Linked DNA regions of Homo sapiens: region 1 is linked to region 2. Evidence: promoter capture Hi-C in 16 types of primary human blood cells and fetal thymus (Javierre and others, 2016). All regions are on one chromosome and are shown on one strand. Each heading gives the region's core, a stretch centred on a gene start or on the middle of the fragment in contact. The rest is flanking DNA. Distances are from core to core; before and after follow the strand shown. Region 1 overlaps SLC6A17 (solute carrier family 6 member 17). Region 2 holds the start of SLC16A4 (solute carrier family 16 member 4).

Region 1 (7,186 bases), core at 3,462-5,961, 200 kb before region 2:
GCAAGTTCTGAAGGCCCAGGGGTGGAGGTTAGGGGTGGAGCTTCTTGACTCCCACAGTTAGAGAGAGGGCTTCTCAGCAGGATGATGAAGGTGGCCCAGCCTCATTACCAGAGCGTGGGCTCTGGAGCCAGACGATCTGGTTCAGACTCTACCTCATCACTCAGCAGTTGTTGGGCAAGTTCCTTTGCCCTGAGGGTCTCAGTTTCCGCAATGGCAAGATGGGGTGGACAGTGGCACCTCCCCAATGGGGTTGTCGGGAAAGTGCTTAGGACTGCTCCTGGCAAGTGGAGAGCATGTGGTAAATGTTAGCTATTATTATCCTCGTCCCTTGTGAAGGTGACACTGTTCTTGGGCAGCGGGAGCCCAGTGCTCCAGTGCCATCTGGTGCTTCGTGGCCCCGGCTGGCTCCACACCAGCAGGTGCACAGCAGTGCTGAGAAGCAAGGTGTGTGCTCCTGTCACGCATGCGCTCAGGCTAGGGCTCAGCAGCTGCTTGTGGGCTCAAAAGCATCATCATGCCCACGAGTCAAACGCCTTGATACACTTTGTTTCCCTGAGTGAGGAAGTAGTTCAGCCATCATGCTGAAGAATTGGCAGGAAGCTGTTCCTCTGTTTTAGAGCAGACACCCCGAGGAGGGGGCGAGCCGCCTTTTCTGAGGGAAAAGCCCATTGCCCATCCTCCTCTTGCAGTCACATCCTGATGCCTGGAAGGGGCGTGGGGTTTTCTGAATCTGGCCGGGGGTTCATCCTCTGTTGTTGCTTGTTAGAATCATGCACCATCACCCAGGAATCCTGGAAAGAGCCCCTTTAAATGCAAGGAACAATAAGCATTCTGTACTGAAGGTGCCAGGCTCAATTTACCCCCAGATTAGCACTGGGCATCTGTGGTCATCTCCATCAGCAAGAGTACCCCTCTGAGCTGCAGGCTGGAAGGGAGGGTGCCCAGGGACCACCTGCACCAGGCACTTTTCTCCTCAAAGGTCAAGTTCACCCTCAGATGCTTTCCTGGGCCCTATCAACATCAGATTTGGTTCCATCAATTTGCTGGGTGATACGTATGTGGGTGATAGGTATTCATTACACTATCTTCTCTGCCTTTGTACATTTTATAATAAATATTCCATAATTTTTTAGTGGAAAAAGAGCAATCTTAACAAACAAATTTTTTTTCTATCCAAAGTTGTTGAATATTCCATCCTCCAAGAAATCTCCAAGCTATATAGGGCCAGCTCTGATCTGCAGTTTGGGATTGTGGTATCCTCCCAGGAGTGGCTGCCTCCATTTATGAAATTTGACCCTGAAGTGTGACTAGGCTGAGGAATTTATTCACATCTTTATTGATCCTAAACCTTTTAGGTTTAGGGTGTGATGGAAATCTTAATGATGGTATGAATTTGGGTCTCACAGGTAGTCTGGACCTTTTTGTGAAAATGATTGACATAGATAAAAAAGGAAATAATTACCAAAAAAAAAAAAAAAGGAAAGAGAAGAGGAAAGGATAATAAAATGAAGCCAGTATTAAAATAGCCATGTTTTAGAAAGTAGAAGTTTGAAGTCCTAAGATCGTCCTCTTATTCTAGAAGACAGCATCTTAGCCCAAAAGGCTGGTACAACTTTGTAGCCCCTTGTCTGGTCCCTCCTGCTCAGCTCACAACTCATAGAAAAAGGTCAGCTTTTGTCTAGTCTCTCTCTCTCTCTCTCGCTCCCGACTCTTTCCTTCTCTCACACGTGCCAGCACTGTTCATACAAACAGGAGAGGAGATGGGCTCCACCCCTAAGCACAAAGTGTTGAAAGGAAGACGAGACACATAAACCTGTGACGTGGGTATTGACAAGAGCTGTGAGAGCTCAAGGACCAGAGGCAATTAGGAAAAACTTTAAAGAAGAAATGATATTCATGGTGGGTTTTGAGAAATTTGTAGGAGTTTACCAGAAAGTGAGTAGGAGGAAGGGAATTTCAGGAAAAAATTACAGCCTAGGCAAAGGCCAGAGGTGTGCTTTTGAAGAGGAGTAAGTTACCTGCATGTAGAATGTTCAGAACATAAAGGAATGGAAAAAGATTTTCTAGAAGACAGTGGGGAACCATCAGATATTTTTCAGCATGCAAGCGACGTGACCAGAGCTGTGTTCATCTTGTTAAAAAAAAACAAAAACAAAAACAAAAAACCACTTCAGCTAGATTAAATGTAAAAGTTTAATTGAGCAATGAACAATTCGCTAATCAGGCAGAACAATTCGCTAATCAGGCAGAACAATTCGCGAATCGGGCAGCCTTCCGAGCCAGAGTAGGTTCAGAGACTCCAGTGCAGTCATGTGATGGAAGAAGATTTATGGACAGAAAAAGGAAAGTGACTTACGGAAGATGGAAGTGAGGTGCAGAAACAGCTGGATTGGTCACAGCTTGGTGTTTGCCTTATTTGAAGTTGGTTCGAGCAGTTGACCACATTTGATTGGCCAAAACTCAGTGATTGGCACAAGGGTAGGCTACAGTCTGTTTACACCTCCACTTCTTACAGTTCATGATGTACAGAGAAACCTTTAGGCCAAACTTAAAATATCTAAGGAGGCAGCTTTAGGCTAAACTTGATTTAATAATCTCAACATACCTTCTTTTAGAAAATTTCATAATTCTTCCTAGTTAGAACTCACCAAACTGCTCAGAGCCCTCCCATGAGGTGCTGGTTTCTAGCCTAGGAGAAGCGCCCAGGCTCCAGCAGATTGTGGTAGGGCTGTTGTGATTGACATTTGCGAATACCAGAGGAGGCCAGCCAGCATGCCTTCCAGGCATAAGTCACCCTTATGCCCATTTCTGGAGCATTCTTGAAAAATTATTTTTCAAAAACTCACCCAAGAGATGGGAATTAACACAAGTCCTTTCCCAGTGGAACTATGATTGTTTTCTTCTCCTTTTCTATTCTCCAGATTTCTACTAGGCACAGTACAGGCCCCCATTTCCTTATCCACAATACCAAAATCCAAATAGCCATGAAAAACAAAAATTGGTTTGGTTTGGTTTTGATCCTCCAGAACTCACTTGGAAGCAAAATGACCTGCACAGATGTGAGGCTATTTATAGTCTTTATTGATTCACTTGGTGTGAATATTCATATTTTGCTGCAGAAATACTAACGTGTTTGATTACAGGGTGCTGCCCCAGACCCTGCTGGGGGTGATATGTAATTAAGTAGCATATGCATCACATTACCTTTCTAAAATTAAATTAGAAACAAAAGCTTGTATTCCAAAACCAGTCAGCCCCCAGGGCTTTTAGATAAGGAACCGTGGGCCTGTATTACATTTGTAAAGAAGGTAACATTTCATCTTACTTTAAAAACCAGACATCCGCCTATGCAAGGGGGTGGGCCCCCAGCAGTACAGGACAGCCCTGCCCTGTTTCTCTGGTCACCTGGCTCTCCCATGCTCCGCTGTGGCTATTTTAAACCCTTCCAATCCTTCACACCCTCTGACCTTCCTTCCGGCATACTCATCCCCAGCAGATGATTTTGCCTCCTGCTTTACAGGGAAAACAGAAGCTGCCAAGAAACTCCCTCAGATGACAGAGACAGAAACCGACCATAAAACCTGCCTGCAGCTGCCCCATCCTGTCCTCCCTCCCTCCTCTCTCAAATGAGCAGCCCAAGGGTGGTCCTATGGAGGACAGCTTCCCACCCCATCCCGATCCCTACCCTCCAGCTTTTCAAGACACTCCATTGAAAACAAAAACAAAAAAGAAATCAAGACAACATATAAAAATGCAACCCTTTGTTGATTTCATAGCCTTCTCCGGATACTGCCCTTCTCCTGATCCGAGGCTTGCTTCTCCGAGGACCTGCTTACCCACATTGCCTCCATTTCCTCCCCTCTGCCTCTCTCTTTTCTTCACTTCCCCTGGCTTCTTGCCAGGGAGCAACTCCGAGGAAGCCTCTGAAGCCCCCTGTGGCCTCCTGCGTGGACTCCCTCAGGGTCTTTCACTGGCAGCACTGACCCTTCCTCCTCCAGGCTCTGGGTTTTCCTCTTGCCTCTGCTGCTTCTCCTTCTCTGACTCCCTTTCAGGAGACTCTCCCTCTTCCCTGCATTCAGTGTTGGAGATAGGAGCAGGCTTTTGCTTCTTATCCCTCTGTAACTACAGCCACAGCCTCAGCTCCTGCCAGCACACCTGCTACTCAGAAAGTCTATCTCCAGCTTGTCTCTCTCTGGCTCCAGGCTCATCTGTCCAGCGGACCACTTGGCATTTCATTTTAGATGTCTTAAAGACACATTCAGCTCAACCTTTGTAGAACTAATGTCCTGATCCTCCCTGCCCAACACCATCAACCTGTTCCTCTCCCACTGTCCCCATCTCCACCTGCTCAGGTATGCAGGCCAGAGACATGGCCCTCACCTCGGCCTCTCCCTCTCCAGCATCTCCCATCTCCAGTCCATCCCGAAGGTCTCCTTGGTTTGTCCTGCGAAGATCTCTCCATTGGCACCACCCAGCCCCTTAGCAAAGCCACTGTCCCCTCCAGCCTGGACCCCAGAAGCCGCTTCCTCGAAGGTCTGCTGAATCCACTTATTTCTTTTGGAAATGCACATGATTGTGTCCCCACTTCTTTAAACCCCTCGGTGGCTTCTTGGGTTAGGTGCTTTCTTAGGGTGAAGACAGGATCTGTACAGGCCTTTGATCTAACTTCTCTCCTCTCCCAGCCCTACCTGTGCCACCCCCACCTCGTCCTCACTGCTTCAGCCACCCTGGCACCTTCCATTCCCTTTTACACACCATCCTCTGTCCTATCTCAGGACCTCTGTCCATGCTTCTTCCCGAATGTTCTTCCCTCCCCTTGTGGCCTCGCTTTCATCAGCTTTCAAATGTCAGCTTGAGGACCCCTTCTTCTGGGAAGCCTTGCCTGGCCTCCCAACTTGTTCAGATCCCCTTCTTATGGGCTCTCCAAGCACTGGGTGCCCAGCCTTCACAGCCCTTGTCACATTTGCAATTTAGCATTTGTTCGTGGGATCATTTGACCAATGTGTCTCTCTCCAACTAGAATGTAAACTTGGAGAGCCTGATTGCTTCTATTCCCCATGGCCTCTGCATCGCCTAGCACCAGGCCTGGCCCACAGCAGGTGCTCAGAGATTGATGGATGAGTGGCTACATGTCATTGCCACAGGGAGGCCTTGACACCTTATACCTAATAAGTACACAGGGGTGGGCTGGGGAGAGGGTCTCCTCATAGATGCCAAGGGGCCCTTAGATCCTTAAGGCCTGGGTTCTGGGCTTTCTTGGTGGACTAAAGATGGTTTTACTTATTTTGTGCTGGATGGGGGACCTTAATCTCCCCTGGAGTACACATGCTGTCTGACCAGGCAGTCCTCCTGGGTCTCCATTTGTGCCCAGGCCCTGAAGCTCAAAGGCTCGACTACCATCCCCCACCTCTTTCCCCTCAGCATGGGGGTGCCGCCCTCAGCCTCACTGCTCTGCCAGCGCTCTGAGCTTGCCAACATCTCAGCTGTTGGAGTGCTGCCAGGAGTTGAGACATGCCTAGGAAGCTGCTGAGATGATGGCAGGTGGGCCCTGTGTCCTGGATGTTATTTAGGGCTGTGATATTAAAGACAGCTAAAGTCCAGACGGACCCTAGAGTCCAACACCTCACTGTTCAGGTGAGGACTTACCCACAGGTACTCAGAAGGGGCAGCCGGGCCAGGACCCACACAGGGCTTGTCACCACAGGGAAGTGAACTCTCTGAATTGGCTCCTTGCCTCCTTAGTCTGTCTGGAGTGAGGTCACTTAGGTTCACCTCAGCAGCAAAGGTCACAGGGGAAAATGCTTTAAAGAGTATAGGTGATAGAAAAACTGAGTCAGGAGTTGGTGCTGGGGCCGGGGGCGGGGGCCTGGCCCAGAATATCTATATTTTAGTTATCACTCTGCCCCGACTAACCAGCTCCATTACCTTGAGCAAGTCATTTCATCTTTGGGGTCTCAGTTTACCCTTTAAAAACATGAATAGTAATCCTTGCTTCCTGCACCCCCGCAAAACACAAAACACCCTGTCCTGACGAGGTCAGCCTCATTCTGTTGGGATTGAGTGCCACTACGTACAGGCATTACTTGTTGCTATACATTTGATCCTCACGTTCACTCCGAGACTCTATTACTATTCCCTTTTCTTCAGATGAGTAATCTGAAGCTCATAACACAGTCAGTGCCACTTACCAAAAGCTTCATAGCCATTTAAAGATGGGAGTCAGGATTTGGATCTGGATCTGTCTGAGACTCTAAAGCTCTGTGCTGGGTCCAAGGCTTGGTCCCTGCCCCAAGGAACAAACAATAAAAGGAAAATAGGTTGGAAAGGGGCTTTGGAAATTGCTCCATGCCATCCCAATGCTGTTGCAGTTCGGGCTCCTGTCAGGTGTGAGGGCAGATGGAAGCTTAGGCGGAGGCCCTTTCTCCAGGAATTGTCTAGGTTCTGTGCTTCAGGTTGGGTGATGGTGGGGAAAAGCAGGCGGTTTGGGTTTTTTTTCCTTTCATGAGGTAGAGGAGTTTGAGGTGGAGAAGGCGTCAGGGAGATTCTGGTATTCTCAGTTTTCTTGTGCTGCTGTGCAAGCTGTTCACTGCAGGACTCTAGGAGGCACCTGTCACACTGTAGTCCAAGTGAATGGCACTCTCTAGAGCTGTGTACTACATGACCATATGTGATGGCCTTGACGATGTTCCTTAGTATGATGGCTGCATGGGAAGCCATGGTAGCAGTTAAATTACTATGTAAGCACTCAGCATTTATGTTGTCTTACCAAGTCCTCACAGTCATCCTCTGAAGTTGATACTCTTGTGATCTGCGTATTGGGGAAACTGAGGCTCAGAGGAGTAGGGAAATTGCCCAAGTTCACACAGCTTCTTACCACTATGGGCTGCTGCCTCTGAACTCTGTTGAGGCTGAGAAAGGGGGTGTGCACATGAATAAAACCATCCCCTCTGTGTCTCTTTTCTTCCTCCTGCCTTGGTCTTCTGCCATAGCTGGACAAGATGCTGGACCCCCAGGTGTGGCGGGAGGCAGCTACCCAGGTCTTCTTTGCCTTGGGCCTGGGCTTTGGTGGTGTCATTGCCTTCTCCAGCTACAATAAGCAGGACAACAACTGCCACTTCGATGCCGCCCTGGTGTCCTTCATCAACTTCTTCACGTCAGTGTTGGCCACCCTCGTGGTGTTTGCTGT
Region 2 (6,604 bases), core at 3,978-6,477:
CTATATATTCAAAAGTTAAAAAGACATTTTATCAGGCCCCCATTGAGGCAATTTATAACCATAATTTTCCTCTAAGGCACTTCTGTCAGGCTAGAAATTAGGTTAGAAAATATACACAGATCTCAAATGACTTAGACTTTCTTCTCTCAGTTCATAATAATGTGATGATTGTGTCCTCTCATGAGCAAGGAATAATACAGTGCATCATTCTGTAAAGTAAACTTCCTTTTGTTCTATGGACGTGGGTTCTGTGCTGGTGTCTAGAGGATGTTGACCTCTATATTCTTAGCTACCTAAATTTAGCTAGCTACTGGTCCCCCAGTTCAGAGCTTTTCATCTCTGGTCTGTCCTTGGTGTCTGCGTGTAGCAGCAGTGAATGGTTAGGACTTGTCTCTAATAACTGAGTCCGTGTCCACTATGTATCAAGAAGACCAAGGGCAGAGCCTTTGCACCTACCATGCTTCCCGTCCCTTAACTTGAAGTCTTCCAACTTTGTTTCAGTTTTGACTCAAAGATATTAAAAATCTCTCCCAAGGTCTAGGTTTTTCCTTAGTTAATTTAGCAGACTACATAAATCTGCATTATTCTACATAATCCCATGTCTTAGACCAAGCTTGGTGGGTTTTAGTTCTGTTACCAGAGTCCACGTCATACATTGTAAATGGCTCACTCCAAAATAAAGCAAAAACCCTAGAACTTCTCCAGTCCCCTCATTTTCTTTTTGTTTTTAAGAGCAGTTAATTGGGTTGAACCTGGCAGGAACACCTTAAGCAGGACTTCCCCCACACCCCACCTCCAATAAGAGCTTCCTCACTAGATCATTTTAATTATTGTCTGGGAAAGGAGTTGGATCAGCCTCAGTGACTTATTTTCAATACAGGCACCAGGCTTTGTCAGAGTTAGTTTTATCTAATAACAACTTCTTATCCTGCGTCCTTTTCTAGTATCACCCTAGCTCCTCCTGACCTTCACAGGCAAACTTCTGTAAAAAATGGTCTATTAGGTATCTCCACTTTCTGTCATTCTGCTACTCCACTGAAAACTAAAGTTCACTAACTTTGGCCCCCACTGCTCCACTGTACTAGCTCTTATCAAGGTTATTAGATTTCTTTGTTGCTAAACCAATAGAGTCTTGTTATTTCTCTCCTATTTGACCTCTCAGTAGCATCTGCTCGTCACATTTCTCTGAAATGCAAATCTATCACATCCCTGCTTAATTTTTCTCATTAGCTTCTCATAGCCTCAAGAGCCATTCTCATCTCTTCAGTTTCATCAACTATCCCCTTCATCCTTATTTGTTTATTCATAAATGTGTGCAGCTATCAATTCATCCATCCATCTATCCATCCACCAACAGTATTTTACTGAGTGCCTACTATGTTCCAGGCTGTATACTGGCACTGGGCTTACGGTAATGAGCATATACTCATGAGCAATGCAGACATAGACCCTGCCCCCATGGAACATTCAGTCTAGTAAGACAGACTGAATACAGAAAACAGTCATACAAATATATAAAGTGTGGTAAGTTGGTTAGAATGAATCTCTCTCTCTTTTTTTAAGTAGGAAGCTCCCAAAGAACATTGTTATTTTTCACTTACTAGGAGCTCATCTGTTATAGAAAAGAACAGTTGTAAGTCATACAGAAACAAAAGCACAGTCATTCAAGTATCCACATTACAACTGTGGGGGATTAGCCCCTGAATTTATTGTTAACATTTTGAGGATCCAGTGCATTTTTTGTGCTTAGTAAGCAGTATCACACCCTAAAAGTGGGACAGTGTTTATTAATCTGGTTATTAGATGGTTTTTCCTATCAGCAACTAAATTGATCAAAAACCATTCTATCCTCAGAGGATAATGTAGAAAAAGTCAGGGTGGTTACTGGGGAGAAAGGCAGGAGAATTAGAGATCCTCACCAACAGTGCCTATTCTGCAAAGCCTATGATTTAGGGGGGTGGCCCAGCCCCAGGAAGGGCTCTCAGACTTAGGGCATCCTTTAGTTTCCCTATTAGTAACATTTCTAGGGGGAAAATGAGATTGTTTAGTACTGAAGCTAATGTTTAGCAAGTACTACTATTATGTGTTAAGAGTTTTGTATTACATAAATCCTGGCTGGGGACCTCTGCCCCTATCTTGTCTAGCACGAGGGAGGAGGCCTGATGTTTTCCCACCATCCTATTTGTAGAATTCTTAGATATCTGCATGTGAACTATAGGATTATTAGAAGGCACCAAGACCTGTGCTACCTTTCCCCGTGAGCTGCTTACTGTAGGGCTGAGTAGGGGGGAAGTGTCGGCAAGAAAAGGGTGTTTTTTTTTGAGTGCATCTCAAAGTTAATAGAACTCTGGAAACACTTAAGAATTGTGCAGCTGGTGCCACTCTCTGGAGAGCTGTGTGGGGCATAGCTGGGGTTCACCAACATTCTGGAATGGGCATGCTGATGATGCAGATCACCACTCTCACACCTCAACCCCTGGGAGGGTGAGGGAAAGAAGTTAATTTAAAAAATGGAATGCCTCGTCTAGTTGCTTATGGGTAAAGGAGAAGAATCAGGCTCCCCCTTCAAAATCCTTGTCCTCCCTTTCCAAACACATCGGAAATATAGATAGCATAAACTATAGTTAGTGGGGATGGATTGGGAAGTAGACAGCAGGCCAAACAGAGGAAATGTCCCCACCCCTTATCGGTAGAAGGGGCTGTGCCCACAGTGTTCTATCTATGCTGGGCTGAACTGGGGAGATCACCCCCAGAGCACTTTTTAGCACCTCCCAGTGCTACTTTTGGGATGGTTAAAAGTATGATTGTCCCCAAACCCTAATTGCCATGCAGCCAGTACAGAACTGCTGATTGTGACTGAGCATTCTCAGGTTTAAGAGATGATAGGAAGAGTAGATGACTGGATTCAGGAACACTTCTGTTTGTTTGTTTTGAGAGAGTCTCTCATGGTTGCCTAGGCTGCAGTGCAGTGGCACGATCTTGGCTCACTTCAGTCTCCACCTCCTGATTTCAAGCAATTCTCCTGCCTCAGCCTCCCAAGTAGCTGGGACTACAGGTGCATGCCACTGCACTCAGCTAATTTTTGTATTTTTGTAGTGATCGGGTTTCACCATGTTAGCTAGGCTGGTCTCGAACTCCTGACTTCAAGTGATCCACACACCTAGGCCTCCCAAAGTGCTGGGATTATAGGTGTGAGCCCCCACACCCAGCCCAGGAACATTTCTGCTTTTGCTCTAGGGGCATTTTCAACTTTCTCCTGGGTTCGGCATGGGCCTCTGACTTTAGCAGTTTTTGGCAGCTCCTGGCCTTGTTCCTGCCCACCCCTCCACTCAGATGCCAAAGATTTCCTAAGTGATCCTATTCGTAGGCAGCTCTGAGCCTTTCTCCAGAAAGCCTGCTTTTAGGCAATAGGAAAGGGGGAAAAAAGTGAATTCTTACCAGGAAAAAATGAATCACAATCATCCATCCCCATCCTCCATCCAGGGTTTTAGTGTAAGGTTGGACCTTCCCCTCCCTCTTCAGCATGATGCCTCTTCTATTTTAAATGCAGAAGATCCCTGTGATAAATCCAAGACAGTTGATTCAGTGGACCAGAAACTAATCTAAACTTTTAAACTTTTTATCTGAAAGGGAACGTTCATACATTGTTGGTGGGAATGCAAATTAGTTCAGCCACTGTGCAACGCAGTTTGGAGATTTCTGAAAGAACCAAAAATTGAACTACCATTTGACCCAGTAATCCCATTCCTGGGTATATACCCAAAGGAAGATAAATTGTTCTACCAAAAAGCCACATGCACTTTTATGTTCACTGCAGCATTATTCACAATAGCAAAGACATGGAATCAACCTACGTGCTCATCAACAGTGGGTTGGATAAAGAAAATGTGATACATAGACACCATGGAATACTACACAGCCACCATAAAAAAGAACAAAATCATATCCTTTCCAGCAATATGGATGCAGCTGGACCATTATCTTGAGCAAATTGATGCAGAAACAACCAAATACTGCATGTTCTCACTTATAAGTGGGAGCTAAAAATTGGGTACATATGGACATAAAGAGGGGAACCACAGACACTGGGGACTACAAGATAGGGAGGGAGGAGGGTTGAAAAACTCCCTATTGGATGCTGTGCTCACTATCTGGGTGAGGGGTTCAATTATACTCCAAATCTCAGCATCAGACAATATGCCTTTGTAACAAACCTACACATGTACCCCCTGAATCTAAAATAAAAGTTGAAATGTAATACAAAACAGAAAAAAAACCTCTTTCCCTATGATATAAAACCACTTGTAATTTTTTTTTAACCCCTCAGTTACAGATGAAGTCTGCCTGATGCAACTAAGGACTTAGTTACCTGGAAAGCCTGATCTCAGTGACTGTGGGGTGGCCACTCCTAGAACTGTACTCAGTGTCCCTCCCCCCAGGTCTGCAAGCCAGTTTCTTGGAGAAGCTGTGCGTCACCCTGCTGGTCCTCCGGGTGAACTCTTAAGAGAAATAGAAAGGGAAGGCGAGCCTTGAGTTTAGGAATTCTCCTTAGAAAACACTTGCTAAATGTAAATATTTTTGGAGCTAAACAGACATGACAACGAAATGCGATACCCGCTTATTGAATATATCCTAGATCAGAAAAAAAAGTTGTAAAAGACAGTTTGTGGGGACAGTTGGGGAAATTTGAATATGGACTGTATAATACAGAATACTGTACCAAGGTTAACCTCTTGGAACCTCTTCCACAAGAGAATATTCTTAGGAGATACATGCTAAAGTATTCAGGAGTAACATGACACTATGCTACCTTCTCCCAATCGGTTCCGTAAAATAAACAAGTGTATATAAAGAATGATAGCAAAAAGAAAATGTAAATGTTCTGAGGAAGGGGGAACAGTACTCATTATTTCCCCTGTCGGGTCGAAGGCTGACTGTTTCTAACTGGAAAGGAAAGTCAGCTGGCAGGGTATGCGGAATGGCCATCTGGTGAGCAGGCTGGGTGGGGAGAGATGCCAGTCGTTGTTAGAAAACCAACCCAGCACACAGTCCCATTCCCATCTTACCTTTGATGTGGTGTTCAGCAAAGAAATCCTCCACAGATGGGGCAATTAAGGAAGAAAAATAAATTACACCGTTTTCTGGAATGTTACTCTTTTTCTAAGGCATTTCATTTTGCTGCATTGTGAAAACAAGTGAGCATTGTAAGAGCCAAGGAGGGCTCAGACGATTTAGGCCCTCCTGCTAGTGGACTTTACTTCCTGAGGGGAGGAGGAAAGACTGTGATTTGATGTCATCTCAGGCCCTCCCTCCACCCACAGTCACTCAGAAGGTAGAATTTTTTGCCGCAGGCTCAAAAGCAAGCATGAAGTAAACTAAGTGGAAAGTCCTTTTGGCGACTATGCTCAGGGCAGGGGGATGGGGCTCCAGAGCTCTCATACACTTGTCTTCAAATTTCCTCAGGGAACTTCTCACAACATGCTTATTTTACAGGAGAATATAAAACTCCTGGATGGGTGGTGAGAGAGGCATTTCCTGGGCCACAAACAGAAATCTTCAGTAAGCTCAACCCATTCGTGTGGCCTTTTGTATATTGACTAAAGATTCTGGTTACTAATTTGGGGTTTCAGACCCCATTTTAATTGCATTTTTGAGATCTGATTACCTCAACCACCTCCTGCAAAAGACGTATGCTCGTAGTAATTTTAATGAGATTTTTTTTATTATATTTTGGAAATGGTTAAGGCTGAGACCCCTAGAAAATTACTGGGATAATTCAACTTTCTCTTCCCATTTCCTCCCTCTACCCTCCACATAAAACAAAACAAAACAAACAAGTCAAATGGGAAATTGTCTTTCGTCTCCCACACCAATATTCCAGATTTTAAACCAGAGTATATTTTAGACGAAAGGATGTGTTTTTAGTTTTATCTGGAAAATCTGCACATATTTATGCATGTTCCTTTTTAAGAAGCAAGAGGCTTCTCAGATTCTTAAAATCAAACTCTATAATACTTTTTGATTAAAGTGCTTGCAGAAGGACAGCTTAGTGGTTTGGGAGGGTGCCCTGTAAGTGTAAGCATGGAAGGATTATGCAGTTACATGATGCTGGTGGCAAGGATCAAATAAACATTCAACAGAAGGAGAAAACCCAAAGAGAGAAGGCAAATAAATGCTTTTCAGAGAGCTGTTTGTAATTATGAATACACTCTAGACAACTTTTTTTTTTTTGAGACAGAGTCTCACTCTGTCGCCCAGGCTGGAGTGCAGTGGTGCAATTTCGGTTCACTGCAACCTCTGCCTCCCGTGTTCAAGTGATTCTCCTGCCTCAGTCTCCCAAGTACCTGGTACTACAGGCGCATACCACCACGCCCAGCTAATTTTTTGTATTTTAGTAGAAACGGGGTTTCACCGTGTTGCCCGGGCTGGTCTCAAACTCCTGAGCTCAGGCAATCCGCCTGCCTTAGCCTGCCAAAGTGCTGGGATTACAGACGTAAGCCACCGTGGCCAGCCTGAAAACATTTTTTAGTAAACAAGACTGATTTATTTATTTTTTTGGTGGCACGCTTGTTGCTCTTTTAAAGCAGGGCTATCTATGATTTCT

What was found. The method cuts DNA at HindIII sites, captures the fragments that hold promoters and counts their contacts. A CHiCAGO score of 5 or more calls a contact.
Region 1: a fragment that was not itself captured here is called in contact with the fragment with the promoter of SLC16A4 in region 2 in 3 of 17 cell types (M0 macrophages, M1 macrophages and M2 macrophages); the score reaches 6.8 in M0 macrophages.

Annotation. Positions count from the first base shown.
Region 1 is chr1:110,184,983-110,192,168 of GRCh38, forward strand. It overlaps SLC6A17 (solute carrier family 6 member 17), which reads left to right. Exons shown (of 12, transcript NM_001010898.4): 7 at 6,990-7,186. Among named protein-coding and RNA genes, the nearest start is that of SLC6A17-AS1, 20 kb to the left of the region's middle. The HindIII fragment of the contact is 2,962 bases long and covers 3,231-6,192 here.
Region 2 is chr1:110,385,799-110,392,402 of GRCh38, forward strand. SLC16A4 (solute carrier family 16 member 4) reads right to left here and starts at 5,228. Exons shown (of 9, transcript NM_004696.3): 1 at 5,067-5,228; 2 at 3,439-3,557. The coding sequence starts at 3,525. The HindIII fragment of the contact is 6,987 bases long and covers 612-6,604 here.